Linked DNA regions of Homo sapiens: region 1 is linked to region 2. The links are contacts of gene promoters, found by promoter capture Hi-C in blood cells and fetal thymus (Javierre and others, 2016). All regions are on one chromosome and are shown on one strand. Each heading gives the region's core, a stretch centred on a gene start or on the middle of the fragment in contact. The rest is flanking DNA. Distances are from core to core; before and after follow the strand shown. Region 1 overlaps ATG16L1 (autophagy related 16 like 1). Region 2 holds the start of DGKD (diacylglycerol kinase delta).

Region 1 (5,520 bases), core at 2,220-4,719, 84 kb before region 2:
GCCTGGCCAACATGGTGAAACCCCGTCTCTAATAAAAATACGAAAATTAGCCGGGTGTGGTAGCGGATGCCTGTAATCCCAGCTACTCAGGAGGCTGAGGCAGGAGAATCGCTTGAACCCGGGAGGTGGAAGTTGCAGTGAGCCAATATCATGCCACTAGGCTCTAGCCTGGGCAGCAGAGCAAGACTCTGCCTCAAAAGCAAAACGAAAAGAATACTTAGTGCTGTGGAAAATGCCTAAAATTAATATAACCGAAAATAGGACACAAAATGTTTTCATACAGATGATCCCAATTTTGTATACTTTTTTAAAAAAATGACTGGAAGGAATTATATGTACTGTTACTGGTGTTTATTTTTGGGGGTGGTGAGATTATGGTTTTTGATTTCTCATTTTATACTTACCTGTATTTTCTAATTTTCCGGTTTCTATTAAGAAAAAATAAGCTGTCCTTTTTGTATTGTTTCTGTCTCACATTTACTTTAAGCAGAATTGTTTGGCTTATGCCATGGAGCTTGACAGCAGTGTGAGGGTGTTGGGGGCCCCAGGTGAGCTGGATGCTGCTAGGTTGCATGTTCACGTCAGCTGAGAGGCTGCTGGAGGGAGAAGTTGGGGAGATGTGTGGTGATGCCAAGGAAGAGCCCCTGAGCAGTGCAGTGGACGGGGGGTAATGCACATTTCCTAGTGAAAATGCTGTCCTCATTCCCTAGCCCACCCTTTGAAGCATCTTCCTAGGGCTGTGCACTTGGAGGTATCATGTGATTGCAGATGTGGGACCTGAGGAGTCTTCATTACTTTGCTTAGGTAGCCTCTCCTCCTAGAAGCCTTCCTGCGTCATTACCCACTTCCTGCCTCCCCAGCTTAGATGTCCCTCATCTTCCTGCTTCAGGCAGCTGTGGTTTACCTGGGCCATATGTAGCACACTGTTTTGAGATAGCTCTTCACACTCTGCCTCCTTCCCTTATGCTGCCACGTGTCCCTGTGGTCAGGCACAGTGGCTGCTTCATAAGATGCACTCAGGGCTGGGCACGGTGGCTGCTGCCTGTAATCCCAGCACTTTGGGAGGCCAAGGCAGGTGGATCACCTGAGGTCAGGAGTTCAAGATCAGCCTGGCCAACATGGCAAAACCCTGTCTCTACTACTAAAAACACAAAAATTAGCTGGATGTAGTGGCAGGTGGCTGTAATCCCGGCTACTCAGGAGGCTGAGACAGGAGAATCGCTTGAACACAGGAAGCGGAGATTGCAGTGAGCCGAGATGATGTCACTGCCCTCCAGCCTGGGTGACAGAGAGAGACTCTGTTTGAGCTATTAAAGACCTTTCCTTTCAGCTATAGTGATGAATCCCTGATAACAGGTGGTGTTTTCCTCTCCCTGTGACCCTAAGTCAAGTTTTTATCTCCACCTTGCAGAACTGGGACCTGAAGTTATAGAAAGTAGATTTCAGACAGTCAACAAGTGCTTTAATCATAGAGTAGTGGTACTCACACACCTTATACCGAGATTCTGGTTTTTCCTCAAAGAGAGTTAGTTCACAGTTGTCTCTACCAGCTAAGACAATTTGGATAAATTGTATTTTTGGTAATTTGCCCTGTAAAACTTATTTTTCATCTTCCAGGTATAAAATCAAGAGTGTAATGCACTTTTTAAGCTATACCCACATCCCTTCCCAAGATTCTGCTATACTGCCTAGAGGACTTTCCTTCATTTTGAGAATTACCACCGTGGTAAAAACTTACGAGAAATTTCAGCAGAATTCTTGATTGCAGCTCAGTAGCATTGCTAGAGTTCTACATTAGGGGTCCTCCACCTAGCAGGCATAGCCATAGTTAGAAGTGAAATTTATCAAAGAAGAGAGAGTAAGGTCAGGGTTAGGAGTTAGGGAGTTTCTGAATTTAGGACTTGAATGAGAGACAAAAATGATTCTGAGAAGGGGAGTTAGTGGATGAGACTTTGACCATGTTAAAAATTTGTCACAGCCAAGACTTCTATGTCAAGCTTTAGTAAATTAAAGTTACTAATGTTATGTAAACTTTGACATTTCAAGAATCTCACTATACCTCAGTTTCCTCATTTATAAATGGCAATAATGATATTTACCTCAAAAGGTTGTTATAAGGCTTAAATGAGTTAAAGTCTGTAAAGTAATTAACAATGTCAGGTAAGGGGAAGTCCTAAGTAAATCTTCACTGTTAGTAATCAGGCTGTGGGTGTGTTAATGCAGGTTGAGCATCCCATATCCCAAACTCCACAATGCTCCAGAATCTGAAACTTCTTGAGTGCCAACATGACACTCAAAGGAAGTACTCATTGGAGCACTTCAGATTTCCGATTTACCATTAATTTCAACTGAATTTCATATTTAGACCTGGATCCTGTCCTCAAGATTTATATCATGTTTATGCAAAACTTCAAAATCTGAGAAAATTCGAAATCTGAAACACTGGTAGTCCCAAACATTTCGAGTAATGGATGCTCAACCCGTGTAAGACTATTTGCTGCAGAAAACTTAAGTCACAACCATGACTAACCCTCAGTGAGCCTGAGGCATGTGTCTATCCTAAGATACCCTTGGTCCCAGAAGGCAGGCCTCCTCCTTTGCCAGTTCACTGCTTTCTCTAATAATGTGGCCTATCTCTCTTCTAGGCTTTACTCTGAAACCCTTTAAAAGGGGAGCCTTACTGATGTTATGAGTTTGGGCTTGTGACTTTTGAGTATTTTGCTCAGGGTAGTTGTTATTTTACATGCACTGAATGTGTTATTAGAACTGGTGGCTTCTAGAGAGCCCAAACCCCGTGCTTTCTTAAGCAGACATAAATGGTGGGCTTTTTTTTTTTTTTTCCCAACAGGAGGCGGCAAGCCCGGCTGCAGAAAGAGCTTGCAGAAGCAGCAAAGGAACCTCTACCAGTCGAACAGTAAGTAAAGATAAATGAATCAAAACTGTGTTTCTGAAAATTTGGCTCTCTTAAAAGTTTTGTTTTTATTTTTTTTTTTGTTTGGTTTTTTTTGAGACAGGGTCTTGCTCTGTTGCCCAGGCTGGAGTGCAGTGGTGTGATCATAGCTTCTAATGTTTTTATTTCTGTAAAATCATCTTACAGATTTTAGAAAGAAAAATGTTAAAGGAAGAAAATGAAAACATACAGTTCTTCCACCACTCAGAACTAACATCCATATATCATTTTAATTGTATTTTGCTGGCTTCTAATTTCTCACAAATCATGTACTGATACGGCCTTTGACCCTATTTCTGATTACTTACTTGAGATAGATTATTGAAAATAAAATTTGATGGGTCAAAGCTTTTGGAACATCACCAAATAACCTTCCAAAAAGTTTGTGTTCATCAGCTGTGAATGTGAATTCTAACTTCCTGCACTCAGTACCCGTTACTGCCTCACTGTTTCCTGTTGACACTTTGAACGATCAGTTTTCTGCCTCTTAATTGTGCCTGCCATGTAATGCGGTGGGGTTTTTGTTGTTGTTGTTTTGTTTGTTTTTTCCCTCCTTGCTCCCTTTGGTTTGTAACTTAAAGTGGAAACTTAAGCGAAAACTAAGATCTCTTGGAACAAAAGGAATCAAACTAGTTCTGGAGCTTTTCCTAATCTGCCTACAAGTTAAGGTGGGGTATCTTCTCTGAGATTTGAAGCTTTCATAGTGGTAGAAAAGAGTTTCCTTCGCTCTAGGATGTTTCTTTTCTATTGAAATGTGTTTTGGAATATAGTTTTAGAGTTTTGATCCACTATTTTTTAAAATGTTGGTTGCTTCCCTGTAAGTGGAGGGGTTTAAATTCAACTAGGAGTCATTCACCAACTAACGTCTTAATTTACAAAGAAACAAAGGTTCCCATATCATGCCTTTGCTTTAGATATGTAGGGTACGTGTGTGTCTGCACTCTCAGATGTGGAAGATTAATCTCAGTTGTATTTTCCCAAGCCACAAAGTAAATAAATAGTTGACCTGGAAATGAGATTTGGTTTCTTCAGAATAACAGCTTATAAAAGTGTCATTTGCATAACCGGGTTGACTGGGATAATTTAGACAGGTTGAGCATCCTGCCCAAGATCATACAGGAAGGGGCCGAGGTAGGATGCAAACACAGGGCTGTAAAAGCCTGTTATTTTATTTTGTATTTTATTTTATTTTGAGATGGAGTTTCACTCTTGTGGCCCAGGCTGGAGTGCAATGGTGCAATCTCAGCTCACTGCAACCTCCGCCTCCCAGGTTTAAGCGACTCTCCTGCCTCAGCCTCCCAAGTAGCTGGGATTACAGGCATGCGCCACCACGCCCAGCTAATTTTGTATTTTTAGTAGAGATGGGGTTTCTCCATGTTGGTCAGGCTGGTCTCGAACTCCTGACTTCAGGTGATCTGCCCGCCTTGGCCTCCCAAAGTGCTGAAATTACAGGCATGAGCCACCGAGCCCGGCCTAAGGCCTCTCCTTAATCTCTATGCTTCCCTAAGGAGTTTCTGGGTCAGAGGACATACATCTTTGAAAGGTTTTGATAACTTAGCAAATGCTAGTGTTTTCTTGTGGTCCCGGGCCTAAGCACAGTTGCAAGTACTTAAAACCATAAAATTCTATTTTCAACAGGACATTGTCAAAGGCTCAGCTCATATTTGCAGTTCCTGTCTTTGCAGTTCTCCTCTCTTCCTTGTATGGGCACAGGTGACTCTCGCAAACCTAGATCCCTGGGAAAGCCAATCAAGAAAATAAAGCACAGCCTTGTCCTTTTTCTTTCGACCTGCCTTTTATTCCCTTCTACATCCTGGCCAAGAATGTGGTGCAATAATTACACATAGTCCTGGAATAAATAGCTAAGGAAAATAAATTTACTTTGACCAGGTTTAACTTGCTTAGTAACAGGTTCTTAAGTATATATTTACCTAATCCAGATAATTATTTATTGAAAAGGAAAAATCTTTCTGTCAAGTTCTTATGAATCCAAACAGTAGGTGATGAAATCTTGGGTTATTACATTTAATTATCTTCTCCATGAAGGTTGCATCTCAGTAGGAGGTCATTAAGACCAAAATAATTACTTGCCCTCCTCCAAGTAGGAAAGACGTGGCCCAGAAAAATGAGGAAGGGGGATTCCAGAGGTACTTTGCATCCGCTGGGATAAACAGCAACAAAGGGAGCATGTCCTATGACTTGATTATGTCATTTGAAGTGTGATGGGCTCTCCTAATGTCAGAGACACTATGTATTTAAGCATAAAATGCGCAGAGTCAAAAATGCATAGTGTTTAAATTTTGCTTTTCTATTTTTTAAAGTAATATTTGAAACTGGGTTAAGTTGGCTGTTGATTTCATGGCCCATTTAGCCATCCCTTCTTTCCCTGAATTCTCCCTACACTGTTGTTTTATATTCCATAGCTGCTGCCCCTAACTACCCTAGGTACCCCTCAGCCCTTGTGTCATGGGAACTGTGCTTGGTGAGTACTGCAGCCCTTCAACAGTGATGCTGACTGTTGATGGAATGCCCTACTTTGGCACTGGTTATGTGGTTATAGACTCAACAGA
Region 2 (5,000 bases), core at 2,373-4,872:
TCAAGGTGGGGTAGACTCAGGGAGCAGGCTGTCGTTAGAGATGATTCATAGTGTGACTCATTCAATAAAGAGGCACCGGAGGGAATGTGCTCTTCCAGGCCACCGCTTTGGGGGAGTTGATGTCTCAGCCCTTCCTGAGATCTCCAGGGGAACAGCGCTGTGCGCTCACCAGGAGAACAAAAAAGCTGCTTCATCATCAAAGAACATTTATGCCAGTTTTCTTTGCTTTAAGAATATAATTCTTACCAAGCCTAATCCTCTTTTTTTAAAATACACTTTTTATTTTGAGTAGTTTTAGATCTACAGAAAAGTTGCAAAGATGTTATACTGAGGTCCCCCACACCCAAAACCCCCTATTATTAACCCTTACATGAGTAGGGTACATTTGCCACACTGAGTGACTCAAATGTTGTTTCCAGTAAAATATACTTATTTCTTTCCAACTTTTATTTTAGGTCCAGGGGGTACATGTGCAGGTTTTTTACATGGGTAAATTGCATGTCATGGCGGTTTGGTGTACAGATAGATACTTTTGTCACCCAAGTAATCAGCACAATAATCCCCGATAGGTAGTTCTTCAATCCTCACCCTCCTCCTACCCGGGAATCAATATTGATGCATTATTATTAAACTAAAGCCCCATACTTAATTCTGATGTCCTCAGCTTTTACCTAATGTCCTTTTTCTGTTCTGGGATCCCATCTAGGAACCCACGTGACGTTTAGTCATCATGTCTCCTTGGCTCCTCTTGTCTGTGACAATCTCAGTACTTTCTGGTAATTGCAGATTTCCTCCTCTCCAGCCACGGTTTCTGCTTCTTAACCGTCACGTTCATGCCCTTGCCTCCTTGACTCTAAAATGATGAGTTCTGGGGCCTGGATGTCCCCTGAGCTCCTAACAGGTGTAGGCAACAGCATTTATTATTATTATTATTATTATTATTATTTTTGAGACGGAGTCTCGCTCTGTTGCCCAGGCTGGAGTGCAGTGACACAATCTCGGCTCACTGCAACCTCTGTCTCCGGGGTTCAAGTGATTCTCCTGCCTCAGCCTCCCGAGTAGCTGGAACTACAAGCGCCCGCCACCACGCCAGGCTAATTTTTTGTATTTTTAGTAGAGACGTGGTTTCACCGTGTTAGCCAGGATGGTCTCGATCTCCTGACCTCGTGATCCGCCTGCCTCAGCCTCCCAAAGTGCTGGGATTACAGGCGTGAGCCACCGCGCCCGGCCGGCAACAGCATTTTAATGGCCTCCCTATTTCTAGTCTTCTCTCCTATGGATCATTCTCTGCCCAGACACATGAGTTCCTCTGCTTTCCCAAACCCCCTTGCCAGCTCCAGTGCCCACGGGACTGAAGTCCTTGCCTCAGAGCAGGGCCGGGAGGCTACTCTGCATCCTGGCGCCGCTGCTCACCTCCCTGCCTCCCGCACCCGCCTTGCTACCGGCTTCACCAAAATCCCTCGTCACCCGCTCTGCTCACCTGGTAGGGGTAGTCTCCCCGTTTTTGCGTTTTCCTGGGAAACTCCCTTCATATCTGACCTCTCCATTCCAATCCCAAACCCTGCTCAGGTCACCCGGCTCCCCCGCGGAATGAAGGAATGAACTGTTTCTTCCCCTGTGCGTCCCCGCCCCTCCTCCGCCTTGCACACTCCTCCAGGGTTTTGCCTCTGTGTATCACTCCACATGTAGTTAATTGATAGAAAAGTCCCAACCCTGTGGGGAGGCTGGAGCCCTTTGTGCCTGCATGAGTTCCCTAGGGCTGCCAGAGCACTGCACCATAGGCCGGGCGGCTTCCACCACAGGAATTGACGCTCTCGGTTCTGGTGGCTGGAAGTGCGAGATCACGGTGTCGGCAGGGGGAGTTCCATCGGAGGCCTTTCTCCTTGGCTTGTAGATGCCATCTTCTCCCTGTGTCTTCACATGGGCTGCCCTCTGTGTGTGTCTGTGTCCTCATCTCCTCTTTTTATGAGGACGCCAGTCATACCGGATTAGGGATCACCCCTGTGACCTCATTTTAACTTCATTACCTTTTTAAAAACCTTAACTCCAAATGCAGTCACATGCTGAGGTACTGGGGGTTAGGACTTCAACATATGAATTACGGGAGGACACAGTTCAGCATGCGACTGTGCTGCAGAACTTTCTGGGGGGACGGGGGAAGTGTTTTATATTTGTGCTATCCAGCGTGGCAGCTGCTAAGCCACATGCGGCTACTGAGTCCCTGAAATGTGGCTCCTGTGGCTGAGGAACGGAATGCTGAATTCTAACTAATTGAAATTTAAGTAGCCACATGTGGCTAGTGGCTATAGTACCCTGGGGCACCATGGGGCCTTCGGCCTGTCCCGGACTGTTCCTGCCTTAGGCCTTGTCCTCCTCTGTCCTGGCCGTGAGCCCATGCCCCTGGCCGTGTCCCCATGCCAGATGCCACTCTGCAGCCCCAGGTCACTGCCCAGGGCGGCGCGGCCAGCGAATGCCTATTGGCAGGCGAGGTCTCTAGCGGCAGCCCTTTGACAGGGAGAGGGCACACCTGGGCAGTCCCTTACTGATTTGCCCCTCAGAGCAGGGCAGACAGATGGACAGCATTTCCTCTGGGTGGCACCAAGCCCTGCTCCACCTGGATGGCACCAAAAACTTAGCTGATCTCATCTCCAGCTTCGCTTCCTCCTCTTCTGCCCAGAGCAGCGCTGGACCCCACCCGCCCACCATCCAGCAGCCCCCCTGGGAAACATGGGACTCGTTCTGGTCACCTCTGTCTCCCTCCAGTCGCTGGTCACTCCCCACCTGGATCTCAGTCCACGTCTCTATCTCTCAGCCCCTCGGTAATCCAGGGCGTCCACCTGCCCTGATAACTTCAAAGCCCGGATCACAGGCCCCAGCGTGGTGACCCAGCCCCGCCCAGGGTTAAATCCCTCAAGGGCTTCCTGCTGCCTTCCATCCCCTTATCTGGTTTCCAAAGCCCGCTTCGACCTGCCCGCCCCGAGGCTCATATCTTAATGCCATTTTCCTTGCTCTAAGCACCAGCTTCCCTTTCTTCCCCCGTCTTCGCCCAACACTCGTTCTTTCTTGCCTCCAGGCCTTTGCACAAATCTGGTCTCTGCCTAGAACATGGTTCCCTCTCTAGTCACAACTCCTGCTCACATTTTCCATCTCTCCTTAAGAACCGTTTTCTCCAGGAAGCCTTCCCAGATGGAGCGGTGCATCCCAGCTCTGGCGTCCCGAGGCCCGTCCCAGTACCGGGGTCTCTTTCCAGCACGCGCGCGCGCATTCGAGCTCGCCCCAAACTCGGCCACACAAGGCTGGGCAGGACAGACACAGCCCCAGCCTGCCTGAGGTTACCTACATTCTGATGCGGAAGAGTAGAGATGTTTTAAGAAGTGAATATAGAAACAAGAACACAAACGGCGTTCCAGAAATAACACACAGAAGCCACGGCCCGGAGAGGTGGGCGGGGGGCCCGGGACGCTTCAGGTGGGGGCGGGGAGGGGCCGCGCGGCGCCGTCTGCAGCTGCGCGCATGGCCGGCAGGGGGCGCGGCGGGGAGAGGCGGGAGGCCGCCCCCACCGCCCCCGGCCCGGCCCGCCCTCGGCCCCGCCCCTCCCGCCGGCCCCGCCCCGCCCCCGCCCGCGGTGCGCGCGCTGGCCCGGCAGCATGGCGGCGGCGGCGGGCGCCCCTCCGCCGGGTCCCCCGCAACCGCCTCCGCCGCCGCCGCCCGAGGAGTCGTCCGACAGCGAGCCCGAGGCGGAGCCCGGCTCCCCACAGAAGCTCATCCGCAAGGTGTCCACGTCGGGTCAGATCCGACAGAAGGTGAGCCCGCGGCGCGGCGGCCCGGGCGCGCGCCCCTCACGCCGCGGCAGCCCCGGCCGAGGCCCGTGGCCCTGCCCGAGCGGCCGCCCAGGCCCGGCTCGGCCCGGCCCGGGGTCCCGCGGGCGTCACCGCCCCTGTCGAGCGTGCCCCGCCGCTGTAACGGGCCGGCGCCCCGGGCGGAGCGCGCGGCCCCCGACGGACGGCGGGCGGCTGTGGGGCCGGGCGGGGGGCGCGCAGGTGGGCGCCCCGGGCGCCGCGCGCTGGGCGGGGGGCGCGCGCCGAGTTGGGCCGCGAGGACCCGGAGGAAACTGAGGCCTAGATGCAGGGGACTGCGCTCGTGCCACCGAGCGGGTCCCACGCGGGGGCTCCCGGCTGCGCCCCGCGGGCGTCCGCGGTCCCCAAACCCCGGTTCTGCACGTTTCTCAGGAGCGGTCGGGTGGTGTCCCGCGAGTGCCCTGCAGACTTCCCTGTGGTGCCCTCAGAAGTCCGCTCGGACCCGGGTGCGAGGGATCACCCCTTCACCCCTTCATCCCAAAAGGGAAGGAAGGGATGCGCGTTCAGTGACCGTCTCTCTCAGCAAAGCCGGGACCGCGCACCCGCTTGGCACCCAACTCTCCACGGAGAACTCCTGACGCTAAATGTTAGATAAAGACGCACGTCCTTTTTGCAGGAGGAAAGTTGCACCGTTTGTTTTCCCATTGTGCTTCCTATTGAAAACAGCTTACGGTTTTTGCTCCAGGTGAGCCCGCCCGGTTAGAACACTGCTTCCTCAGGCAGGTGGCTGGACAGGTGGCTGCGAGCAGGCTGGGTCCCTGGGGCAGCTCTGGCAGATCCGGTTGGCACGGACTTTCTCCTCCTGCTGCAGTGCGCTTTTCCTCCGGGGCGGATTAGGTTCAGCCGTTCCCTTCACCGTGGGAGCCTTCTCTTCTGTCAGCCTTTGATACCTGCGATGGGGGAACCTGAGGTCCTAACATGTTACAAACAGGTTTGTTGTGAAGTGCTCCAGTTATTCAGCAAATAGGTACCGAACACCTGCTTTGTTCCGGGTATAACAGTAGCAGTAGTGATGATAATGATAGCAATAGCAAATAACAATTCTTTAATAAGCCTTCTATGTGCCAGGCACTTTCTTGGGTTAGCTTTACAGCACTTGACATGGTTAGTTTATTAGTACTGGTGAGAACCCAATAAGTTGGA

The links. The method cuts DNA at HindIII sites, captures the fragments that hold promoters and counts their contacts. A CHiCAGO score of 5 or more calls a contact.
Region 1: a fragment that was not itself captured here is called in contact with the fragment with the promoter of DGKD in region 2 in 1 of 17 cell types (total B cells); the score reaches 6.8 in total B cells.

What each region holds. Positions count from the first base shown.
Region 1 is chr2:233,267,154-233,272,673 of GRCh38, forward strand. ATG16L1 (autophagy related 16 like 1) reads left to right here. Exons shown (of 18, transcript NM_030803.7): 6 at 2,849-2,914. Among named protein-coding and RNA genes, the nearest start is that of ATG16L1, 18 kb to the left of the region's middle. The HindIII fragment of the contact is 347 bases long and covers 3,297-3,643 here.
Region 2 is chr2:233,350,872-233,355,871 of GRCh38, forward strand. DGKD (diacylglycerol kinase delta) reads left to right here and starts at 3,623. Exons shown (of 30, transcript NM_152879.3): 1 at 3,623-3,803. The coding sequence starts at 3,648. RefSeq lists enhancers at 3,073-3,132, 3,273-3,322 and a silencer at 3,573-3,812. The HindIII fragment of the contact is 8,442 bases long and covers 1-5,000 here.